Linked DNA regions of Homo sapiens: all the other regions are linked to region 1. The links are contacts of gene promoters, found by promoter capture Hi-C in blood cells and fetal thymus (Javierre and others, 2016). All regions are on one chromosome and are shown on one strand. Each heading gives the region's core, a stretch centred on a gene start or on the middle of the fragment in contact. The rest is flanking DNA. Distances are from core to core; before and after follow the strand shown.

The links. The method cuts DNA at HindIII sites, captures the fragments that hold promoters and counts their contacts. A CHiCAGO score of 5 or more calls a contact.
Region 2: a fragment that was not itself captured here is called in contact with the fragment with the promoter of SEC61G in region 1 in 1 of 17 cell types (fetal thymus); the score reaches 6.9 in fetal thymus.
Region 3: a contact is called between a fragment that was not itself captured here and the fragment with the promoter of SEC61G in region 1, in 1 of 17 cell types (total B cells). The highest score is 6.2, in total B cells.

What each region holds. Positions count from the first base shown.
Region 1 is chr7:54,757,187-54,761,342 of GRCh38, reverse strand. It overlaps SEC61G (SEC61 translocon subunit gamma), which reads left to right and starts at 2,132. Exons shown (of 4, transcript NM_014302.4): 1 at 2,132-2,185; 2 at 3,749-3,848. The coding sequence starts at 3,755. SEC61G-DT (SEC61G divergent transcript) reads right to left here and starts at 2,030. Exons shown (of 3, transcript NR_110040.1): 1 at 1,819-2,030. RefSeq lists an enhancer at 994-1,929 and a silencer at 2,163-2,482. The HindIII fragment of the contact is 2,422 bases long and covers 1,722-4,143 here.
Region 2 is chr7:50,444,169-50,448,301 of GRCh38, reverse strand. FIGNL1 (fidgetin like 1) reads left to right here. Exons shown (of 4, transcript NM_001287492.4): 3 at 13-121; 4 at 1,005-4,133. The coding sequence starts at 1,015. The coding sequence ends at 3,039. Among named protein-coding and RNA genes, the nearest start is that of FIGNL1, 4.1 kb to the left of the region's middle. RefSeq lists an enhancer at 752-1,951. The HindIII fragment of the contact is 2,949 bases long and covers 1-2,724 here.
Region 3 is chr7:50,064,935-50,068,653 of GRCh38, reverse strand. The region is part of intron 3 of ZPBP (zona pellucida binding protein); the gene reads left to right. Among named protein-coding and RNA genes, the nearest start is that of ZPBP, 26 kb to the left of the region's middle. The HindIII fragment of the contact is 1,232 bases long and covers 640-1,871 here.

The DNA.
Region 1 (4,156 bases), core at 883-3,382:
GTACTATTCTGTTGTGGGACTATACCTGTATGTTTATTCATTCTATTGATGGTACCCTGTTGCTTTTAGTTCTGTTATCAATAAAGTTACTACGAACATTCCTGTACAAGTCTTTCTGTGAATTTAGTTTCATATATCTTCAATAAGTACCTGGAATTGGAATTGTGGAGCCATAGGTGGTGTATATATGCTTCATATTATGATAAACTACTAAACTTTTCCCAAAAGGGTTATGCCATTTTACACTCCTAGTAACCAGGAATTAGAGTTCTAGAGTTCTGATTGTTACGTATTTTTGCACAGATTTGCTGTTATCAGCCTGTTTTTTTTTTTTTTTTTTTTTACAGACGGAGTCTTGCTCTGTTGCCCAGGCTGGAGTGCAGTCGTGTGACCTCAGCTCACTGCAACCTCCACCTCCCGGGTTCAAGGGATTCTCTTGCCTCAGCCTCCTGAGTAGCTAGGGTTACAGGCATGCGACACCATTCCAGACTAATTTTTGTATTTTTAGTGGAGACGGGGTTTCTCCACGTTGGTCTGGCTGGTCTCAAACTCCCGAAATCAGGTGAGTAGACAATTATAACAATACACTGTAATGAAAGTTATTTGAATGTGGCCTCTCCCAGATTACCTTCTGGTACACATCTCTTTTTGAACCAGATTTTCTTGGATAAGGGGAACCACTGTATGTGTTACTTGATTTTCTGTGTTTTGCTGAAAATACTGTCAACTCAGACATTTGGTGGTTGGGGTGAACTTGCCAACATGTGATTTTATGTTTTTTTGGAATGAATTATTTTTTTGAAAATTATTTATTGAGCATTTACTGTGTTTAGCACTTTACTAGATGCTATATTATACCCACTTGGAGCTTATGGTCTAGTAAGGGGATTTACAGTGTAGGGAGACAGACCGAGGAATAAATAAATAAATGTTAATACAAATGCTATGCAGCAAATGAAGAAGGTATTGTGAAAAAGGAAAAAAGAGCATGAGATAGACAGGATTGCCTTAGATGGTCACTATAGGCCTCTAAGGAGATGACACATGGGCTGAAGTCCCAGGGATGAAGAACTAGTCAAACGCATCTCAGTCTGTTCAGAATTTAAAAGTGACTCTTAAAGCTAAGGCAAGGTATGTGTAGTGTGTATGGACCACCTACAGTCAGATATACGGAGGTGTGTGACCTCTAACCCTGACCCACTGAATCAATATCTGGAGGTTCTGGGGTTACAAATTTCATTTACTAAAAAACTTAACAGGAGATTTCAGTTACTGAAGAAGTTTAAGAAGCACTGAGAGTTGTAACACGTCTTAATGTTCCATCAGCTCTTCCTGAGTTATATTGTTCCTCAGATCCCGTTATGCTCCATTGCTAAAAGGAAACATGGCCGGGCGCGGTGGCTCACGTCTGTAATCCCAGCACTTTGGGAGGCCGAGGCGGGTGGATCGCGAGGTCAGGAGTTCAAGACCAGCCTGGCCAATATGGTGAAACCCCGTCTCTACTGACGGTTTCAGCCATCCGGCGGGGGGTTCCTGGAATGCATCCTTGTGGGTAAGTGGGGAGCTGTGTGTACATTATGACCACTCCCGTAACCAAACCTAGCGTTTGACAAAGGCCTCAATTACAGCGGCATTCATTACCGTGAATGACAGCCAAAGTCAAAGTTTGGGGTGGGGATACTATTTTGAATTAGGCCATAACATTATATTGCTCATAAGCTTCATTTCGACCAACATTATATACATACAAAAAGTATGTACCGTAAGGACACACATCAAGCTGGACCGCAGGAAAAAAAACCACAACTTAGGATTTACCTAGTCAGCCGCTACTAGAGAGCAAGCACCGCGCAAGGCCGCTGGGGCTCGTGCTGTGGACGTGAGTGGGTTGAGGTCGGGCTGGTGGGGTAACCCGGGATCCAGCCGGAAAAAAGGGATAACGCTAGACTCACACTCCTAAGGAAGGCCAACGCCCCAACTAGCGAGCTCCGCAATGCATCTCTTCCAGGAAGCGTGGCCGGGCGCACGTCGCGCTGCGCTTGCGCACTGAGGTTTCGCGTAAGGAACCAATAGGACGGAGGAGTGGGCGGGCTGTTGGCAGAAACCCGGATTCCGGTTCCGGTGGGCCTCCATCAGCAAGCTCCAGTGCTACGTGTCCCTGGCATTTTAGGTGTCGGTTGGGTAGGTGAGTTTCTTCCCACCGGTCGGTACGGGCGAACGGGGCGGCCACACCTTTGCGACTCTTGGGGGCAGCGGGCGTGGGCGAGCCGGCGTGTCTCCCCGGGCGGCCGTCGCGGGGCGGGCGGTAAGTGGTCCCCTGGCTCAGGGCCGGGGTCTGGCCGCCGACATCCCACCAACTCGGCCTCTGGCGGAAGGCAGACCCAGGGCCGCGGACTCCCGGCGAGCTGGGTGGCCGGCCCGCGGGGCTCCAGGGCTTAGCGTCCTGCCCCGGCGTCTTCTGTGCTGCAGCCAAAGATGATGTCCTGCTGCCCGATCCCTTCGGGGTTGGCTCTGTGTGCTGTTGTGGAGTCCTGTCTGGGAAGAGCTGTACTCAGCTCTGGTCCTGCCGCCGCTTCCGTGGTTTAAAGTGAGAGCATTGGTCTAGAGTCTAGTTCGAGAGATCATAGTTGGTTTTTGGATCTCTACCCCTGACATTGAGTGCGGTATTGTGTGTAGCGTGCGTTTTTCTGGATAAAGAATTCTTAGCTTCCTTCGTGACAACTATGATTACAAAAAGTTTAAGCCCTTTGGATTTCAAGAGCAAAGTTGAGTGAAATACTGAGAAAACAGACATTACTGTGTTTTTGCCCCCAGAACGTTGCAGAATTCCTGGTGTTTCATTGACATTATTTCATTTCGTTGTCCACACCCTACACTAAGGAAGGCAACTGGGGCTTACAGAGGTTTACATTCCATAGCCAGTGATTTGAACTACCACCTGGCCACTGTTCTGAGTACTGGAAATGGAGGAAAATACAAATAACACCCTGGCTGCTTTACTTACTATAGCAGTGGCTCTCAAAGCTAAGATCGGATAACATTTCTATTGGGTAATAGATTCCTCAAAAGAACCTGTATGGTAAAATATATAGCCCTGTTTCCTTAAAAGATGTGTTCAAATCGAAAAGTTTGAAATTTAGCTAGTAGCTTCTCAGAATTTGCGTCTTCCTTTAGCCATTCTTTATACTTTAGAAAAGTATGTTGTATTGGCACGTTTTAGAAAAATCAAGGTTGAAATTCACGTTTGCCTCTATTCTAGGCTCTTGCAGCACCGTAGTTGGCATTCACTGTACAAGACACTGGCTTCTGCGTAGTTTAAAATAAAATATGGAAAGTAATTGTTGGATCTCAACACTGATGGTTCCTTAGGAGCGGTGAGGGGACTGTAGAATGAGAAATGGATGGGACTGCAGAGTGAGAAAAGGAATGGATGTGTTACCAATTGCGTAACCTTTTTTAACCTTTTAATAGAGATAGGCTTTTTATATTGCGTGTGCTGTTCTTTGTCAGTGAAGATATCATGAGTAAGATCTGTGCTTTTCTTATTGCCTTTGATAATTAACTGAAATTTCCAAAAATAATATCAATTTAGGCTTTGGAGTTTGTTTTTTGTTTTATTTTAGGAGGTGGAATTGACCCATGTTAGACGTGAATTCAGTGGCTGGTCTCATTTACATCTTTATATAAATGAGCAAGTGCTTATTGTATGAGAACCAATACCAGTGAGTATCTTTTTTGTTTTAAACAGGCAGTCATGGATCAGGTAATGCAGTTTGTTGAGCCAAGTCGGCAGTTTGTAAAGGACTCCATTCGGCTGGTTAAAAGATGCACTAAACCTGATAGAAAAGGTAATTGCTTGACTATGAGAGAAAAAATTAAATCTTTGCATTTTCTAAGCCTTTTGTTTGATTAACATCTTGATTAATAGCCCTTGCATTACTTTGATCAACATTTTTATTGATTGATCCTGCGCGACAGCTTTTTAACGTTGTCACTTCTTCCTAAATTTTTTACTCGTCTAAATTTTTATGTATTTTCAAATGGTGTAAGATTATTTATTACAGCCTTATGTTCCATGTAACATTTTAGTTAGTAACATTTTATGACTTTTAGTATCTTACATATTTTCTCTTTGGAAAAGCTTTGAAGTCTCCCT
Region 2 (4,133 bases), core at 1-2,500, 4.3 Mb after region 1:
TCTGTGACCTAGGATAGCAGCATCAAGGAGCATTGTGTACATGCAGAAGTGCACAGTACCTGGAGTGAAACTGCTTGTGTTCGATTTCTGATACCATTCATAACTGGCTGTGTGATCTCAAGTAAGTTCTTTAAGTCTCTCAGCCTCGGTTTGTACATTTGTGTGATAAGGATAATGATAGTTTTCAGATTATTTTCATAGTCATTGCTTGATTTGATTCTTCCAATGGTTCCTCTCACTTTGCAGATAAGAAAACTGAAGAACCAGCTGGGCGCGGTAGCTCACGCCTGTAATCCCAGCACTTTGGGAGGCTGAGGCGGGTGGATTACCTGAGGTCAGGAGTTCAAGACCAGCCTGACTAACATGGCGAAACCCCATCTCTACTAAAAATATAAAAATTATCCAGGGGTGGTGGCAGGTGCCTGTAATCCCAGCTACTTGGGAAGCTGGGGCAGGAGAAGCACTTGAACCCGCGAGGTGGAGGTTGCAGTGAGCTGAGAGCGCCACTGCCCTCCAGCAGCCTGGGTGACAGAGCGAGACACTGTCTCAAAAAAAAATAATAATAAAATAAAAATAAACCATCAGTGATAGTAAAAAGCTCACTTAAGCTCATTCACCTAGTTTTATAGATCAGACTTAAACCTCTTGTTTATTTTGTTTTGCTTTATGTATCTATAGTTCCATTGTTTTTAAAATTTAAAATTAATTTTAAACCTTATGAATGCTTTCCCTACAGATAAAATTATGTAACTAGAACAATTTAACTCATATAAATTATTATTTAATCAAGTCCTTAATTTTGAAGACTTCATATTGATATGTCTTGAATACTTGAAATCTATAGTTAACTAGATATTTCTCTTATAACCTGTCCTTATAAATCTACATTATAAATAAAAAGTCCAGTGTCCCTTCCTTCAGATTAGCAGAAGTTTCAAAATTACATTTAAAGTATTTTCTTTGTTTTCCTTCATACTGATTTTCATTTTTATTGTTTGTTATAGAACCTCTAAAATGCAGACCTCCAGCTCTAGATCTGTGCACCTGAGTGAATGGCAGAAGAATTACTTCGCAATTACATCTGGCATATGTACCGGACCGAAGGCAGATGCATACCGTGCACAGATATTACGCATTCAGTATGCATGGGCAAACTCTGAGATTTCCCAGGTCTGTGCTACCAAACTGTTCAAAAAATATGCAGAGAAATATTCTGCAATTATTGATTCTGACAATGTTGAATCTGGGTTGAATAATTATGCAGAAAACATTTTAACTTTGGCAGGATCTCAACAAACAGATAGTGACAAGTGGCAGTCTGGATTGTCAATAAATAATGTTTTCAAAATGAGTAGTGTACAGAAGATGATGCAAGCTGGCAAAAAATTCAAAGACTCTCTGTTGGAACCTGCTCTTGCATCAGTGGTAATCCATAAGGAGGCCACTGTCTTTGATCTTCCTAAATTTAGTGTTTGTGGTAGTTCTCAAGAGAGTGACTCATTACCTAACTCAGCTCATGATCGAGACCGGACCCAAGACTTCCCGGAGAGCAATCGTTTGAAACTCCTTCAGAATGCCCAGCCACCTATGGTGACTAACACTGCTAGGACTTGTCCTACATTCTCAGCACCTGTAGGTGAGTCAGCTACTGCAAAATTCCATGTCACACCATTGTTTGGAAATGTCAAAAAGGAAAATCACAGCTCTGCAAAAGAAAACATAGGACTTAATGTGTTCTTATCTAACCAGTCTTGTTTTCCTGCTGCCTGTGAAAATCCACAGAGGAAGTCTTTTTATGGTTCTGGCACCATTGATGCACTTTCCAATCCAATACTGAATAAGGCTTGTAGTAAAACAGAAGATAATGGCCCAAAGGAGGATAGCAGCCTGCCTACATTTAAAACTGCAAAAGAACAATTATGGGTAGATCAGCAAAAAAAGTACCACCAACCTCAGCGTGCATCAGGGTCTTCATATGGTGGTGTAAAAAAGTCTCTAGGAGCTAGTAGATCCCGAGGGATACTTGGAAAGTTTGTTCCTCCTATACCCAAGCAAGATGGGGGAGAGCAGAATGGAGGAATGCAATGTAAGCCTTATGGGGCAGGACCTACAGAACCAGCACATCCAGTTGATGAGCGTCTGAAGAACTTGGAGCCAAAGATGATTGAACTTATTATGAATGAGATTATGGATCATGGACCTCCAGTAAATTGGGAAGATATTGCAGGAGTAGAATTTGCTAAAGCCACCATAAAGGAAATAGTTGTGTGGCCCATGTTGAGGCCAGACATCTTTACTGGTTTAAGGGGACCCCCTAAAGGAATTTTGCTCTTTGGTCCTCCTGGGACTGGTAAAACTCTAATTGGCAAGTGCATTGCTAGTCAGTCTGGGGCAACATTCTTTAGCATCTCTGCTTCATCCTTAACTTCTAAATGGGTAGGTGAGGGGGAGAAAATGGTCCGTGCATTGTTTGCTGTTGCAAGGTGTCAGCAACCAGCTGTGATATTTATTGACGAAATTGATTCCTTGTTATCTCAACGGGGAGATGGTGAGCATGAATCTTCTAGAAGGATAAAAACAGAATTTTTAGTTCAATTAGATGGAGCAACAACATCTTCTGAAGATCGTATCCTAGTGGTGGGAGCAACAAATCGGCCACAAGAAATTGATGAGGCTGCCCGGAGAAGATTGGTGAAAAGGCTTTATATTCCCCTCCCAGAAGCTTCAGCCAGGAAACAGATAGTAATTAATCTAATGTCCAAAGAGCAGTGTTGCCTCAGTGAAGAAGAAATTGAACAGATTGTACAGCAGTCTGATGCGTTTTCAGGAGCAGACATGACACAGCTTTGCAGGGAGGCTTCTCTTGGTCCTATTCGCAGTTTACAAACTGCTGACATTGCTACCATAACACCGGATCAAGTTCGACCCATAGCTTACATTGATTTTGAAAATGCTTTTAGAACTGTGCGACCTAGTGTTTCTCCAAAAGATTTAGAGCTTTATGAAAACTGGAACAAAACTTTTGGTTGTGGAAAGTAAGTGGGATACTTGGAATCAAGGCATCTCTGTAGTACAGTCTTCTTTATTTTTTAGCATAGAAAGTTGGGGATGTGTTAATTGTATTTTTAAGAATATATTCTAAGTTCTGTACTTCAAATAATAGCACAGATTTTACATCTGATTGACATAGTGTATGTTAATGTAAGTTTTGCTTTCCAGTGATTACCTGATACGTAAGCCTATTTGAACAAAGTGAGAATGAACTTTTGTTTCTAAGAAGTCTTTATCTTGAAGCTATATAACATGAAAAGTGAGCTCAAATTTTTTTTAGTTGAAGATTACATATAAAGTTGTGTCTGATTAATATTCATCTTTTATTGAAGAAAGTGCCTTCTGATGGCCACATAATTCTTAATGTCAGCTAGTATAATGGTTTACATTTGGACAAAGTATTGCTTAGTGTTATTTAAGTAGATTTAAGATCTCAAAGCTAAAGTGCCAATTTTTACTTTCTTCAGCCAATTTGTTACCTCTTTTATGGTTTTTAATTTTTATCAGGACTAACATTTTCAGAAATAGCAAGGTGTGATCTAGTATTAGATTCACAGAACTGAAAGGTTAATTAAGAATGTTGGTTATTTTCACGGGAGCGTGTGATATTTAACATTAATATTTTATTTGACACTACAGCCTGTAATACTGCTCTCTTTCAAAAACAAGTTTTCAGATTTTTATAACAGACCCATTTTGTTTTATGAAACATGTTCATTACAGAAACATGAGAAAATAGAGATAAGTAAAAAGAATAAAAGTCACTATTATCCTACCACTTTGCGGGACACACTATTAATATTTAAGCATAGATTCTTCCAGATGTTTTGTTTTATACAGCAGTAGGATTGTGTAATGTATTCTCTCTTGTAGCCTATTCTTCAAAGCGTATCTTCACTTTCCATGTTAACATAAATGTCCTTTTATGATTGTCTAGGATTCCATGGATGGATGGAATATAATTGAGTCATCTGGTAGAGCGCATATAGGACAGGACGCTAGGTTGTTTATCTTTTGTTTATTGTAAAGGAACTATGTGGGATGCATTTGGTGATCTTTTTAAAAAATGTATAAATTTCTTG
Region 3 (3,719 bases), core at 6-2,505, 4.7 Mb after region 1:
GAGGCTTTAAAAAGGCTAATTTACTAGCAGCAACCCTTACGGAAAGAGAAGCTGGCTTTGCAAGGAGGCATGAACGCAGGTGTGAACGCAGTCGTGGAAAAAGCTAGTCTGGACAGGAGTTTGAAAGCCGGCTGAGGCTAGAGAAAGATTAATGTGCTTGATGTAAAAGAAAAGCACACTAGAAGGATAAATGTCAGGGCCATAGTATGAAAAAAAAAAAAAACACTGGCCAAGGGCTACTGCACCCAGAAAAACCCAAGACCCCCTGCACCTGCTGTGAAAGACAGGCTATAAAGTGTCAGGAGAAAGCTCAGATGTGCTTTAAAAGTGTCCAGTAGTTGGGCTTTCATATAAGCCAAGAAGAACGATGCCTTGGAGTGAACAAAAGCAGGCTGTTTGTGCACTTCCTACTCCAACCACCTGGCGTCCAATAAGAGAGTCCCTAAGGGCAGCAAGGTTCTGCCACATTTAGATGCCAAATGTCTTGTTCATGGCTAAGCCATTATACAAAGCCACAAAGAGGAGAAAAAAAGGAGTCTCTCCTCTAAGAGGCCAACCAGGAGAAGGCTTTAAAAAAAAATCAAAGAAGCCTTGACTCAGGCTCCAGCTTTAGGACTACCAGATCTAACTAACTAAGCTTTTCTTCTTGTATGTCCACAAGTGAAAGGGAGGCCATAGAGGTTCTAACTCTAAGTTAGAACTTAGAAGGACAACTACTAAATTAGAAGTCCTTAGAAGGACAACTGCCCTGCTCTGACCACACCAGTTCTAACTCTAACTCAAGTCATAAAGTCATGGCATCACCCAGTGACATACTTATCCAGGCAATTAGATTCTGTGGCACTTGGATGGCTTCCTTATTTTAAAACACTAGCTGCCACTGCCCTACTGGTGCAGGAAGCTAATAAACTGACTTTAGAGACTGTGAATACTCTAAACCCGGCTATGTTGCTCCTCATCGAGTCAGTGACAGGAGGCCCTTTTCATTGCTGGGTGGACATGGTAGATGAAATGTTCTCAAGCCGAAGAGATTTGACAGATCAGCTCCTCAAGGACCCAGACATTGAATATTTTACTGATAGAAGCAGTTTCATATTAAAGGGAGTCTGCTGAGCTAGGTATACAGTGGTGACTTTGGACTCAGTAGTGCAGTCTTTGCCTATAGAAACTTCTGCTTAGAAAGCAGAGCTAATATCTCTGACAAGAACTCTTTGGCTAGCAAAAGACCAAAGGACAAATATTTACACAGATTCCAAATATGCTTCTGCTGCTTTGCATGTTCATGAGGCTATTTACGAAGGAAAAAAAAAGATTTTAACTGCTGGAAGTAAAAAAATAAAGTACAAGGAAGAAATTCTACAGCTCTTAAATGCTGTATGGGCCCCCAAAGAGGTGGTTGTGATGTGCTGCAAGGGGCACCAAAAAGCAAGAACACTAAAGGCTAAAAAAAAGGGAAAGGCAAACGTAAAGGCAAATGCAGGCTTTAAGTATGGCCATGCAAAAGATGCATGGTTAGGTATGAAAAAAAATGCGTGTAAGTCTAACAGACCCAGTACACCCTTTCAAACCTGAGGACTTTGTTTAGGTTAAAAAATAGGGTCTAACCACTCTAGGACCCATATAAGATAGGCCCCATATTGTGATCATGTCTACTCCCACTGCTGTTAAAGTTGCAGGTGTCACACCTTGGATTCACCATAGCTGGCTAAAATCAGCGGCAGTAGTGACTCCCGACGACGACCAGTGGATTAGCCAACAAGACCCAGATCGCCCGACCCGAATAGTCCTACAGTGAAACCCAGCCACTGGTAAGGACAACTGCCCTGCTCTGACCACACTGGAGGCTGGTCAGTCTATGCATGGCTGAAGCTTGAGGATCCTGCAAGCTCTGCTCTAATCACATCCCGAAAGCTGACTAGTCTATGCACAGCTGAAGCTAAGAGGACCATCTCTGGATAAGTAAATGTGAATACAATGTATAAGCCTAGTTATAATTCTATCAGTACTGATTGTTCTGTTGTTATGTTATTACTGCAAATGCTGCAAATGTCTATGCCCAGAGGAATGTTTGCCATGCCTATGTGTAGTGTAAGCATAGTTCTATTACCTACGCTAATGTTTTTACCATTTCTGCCTATACTAAAAGGGAAGAAATCTCTAGAAAAATGCCCACACTGTGTAGACACTACCTGGGTAAGGAATACCATAGTTACAACTCTACCATACCTACTATAAATATACAGGAACCAGGTTAGGAACCTGCACATACAACCAGACCACCTATTCAGTCTGTGACCCAGGAAATAATCAGCTATATGTATGTTATGACCCTAAGCTCTTAACCTATAAATTCTGGTTTAAAACACATATTAAATCAGAGAAAAAAAAAAAAGAAAGAGAGCTTATAGCTCAAACCAAAGAAGACCCTCTCTCCTATAAAAGGCCTATTTCCTTGTACTTTGATGCCTGCCATGCTGCATATGTTCATAATCCTAAAACAATCAGAAGCAGTCTGCAATGGTTTAACACAAGAGAGGCTTAAGCAGCAGCAGCCCTAAACATCTGTACAGAAAACCACAAATTGGATGCCCAGACTGTAACATTCAGTGGAATACGCTAACACAGCTCCAACACTTATATTCAGGAAAGACTGCTCTACTAAGTAGTATGTCAACCAAATGAAATTGTAAGACAAGGACATGCAGTTCTTTAAATTTTACTGTCTTAAAGCCAGAGCTACCTTTTTGGTCTACAGGACAGACAGCACTGTTACAAGTTAAAAGGAACAGGCCTTGGAGTTCCACTACTAATTGTCAAAAAGACTAGAAGGACTCAAATGCATCCAACCCTGCAATTCCAGGTCCATAAGTCATTCTAAAAGCATTTTAATCAGTCAGTGCCTGAGCTTCTCCCATCAACCAAAACGATATTTGCTCAACTAGCTGAAAACATAGCTGGCAGCTTAAGAATTTCCTCATACTATGTATGTGGAGAAACAAAAATGGGAGACCAGTGGCCATGGGAGGCAAAAAAATTAATGCCACAAGATCACTTCACTTCACCTAACCCAGTCAGTGAACCAACAGCCTCAGCCAGTGTTTAGTTGTTAAAAACCTCCATAATTGAAAAGTACTGTATCGCCTGATAAGAAAAGGCTTTCACAGAAGCAGTAGGAAAAACAACCTGCCCAAGGCAACAATATTATAATAAGACTAATAACAAAACTCTACGGAGAAACGCCCAGAATGACTCCTACTTACCAGATCCAAACCCTTTCTCTTGATTCTCTACTCTAAGCCACTCTTGAGATCAACTAGAGGCTCCAAATGCTTGGAAGGCACCCTCTGGCCTGTATTAGATCTGTTGAACATGGGCATATTGGCAACTGCTGGCTAAATGGATGAGGGCATGTGTGTTAAAAACAATCAAGCCTTCCTCTTTCTAATTCCTCTAAAGCAAGAGGAACTCTTAAGATATCCAGTTTATGATAAAAATTAAAAAATAGGAGCATACTCACAAAAATAGACACAAATATCAAAGAAATGTGGACATAAGTGTTGTGGGAAGTCAGGGACTACAAACGGAGGGACCGGCTGAAGCCATGGCAGAAGAACGTGGATTGTGAAGATTTTATGGACATTTATTAGTTCCCCAAATTAATACTTTTATAATTTCTTATTCCTGTCTTTACTGCAATCTCTAAACATAAAATTGTAAAG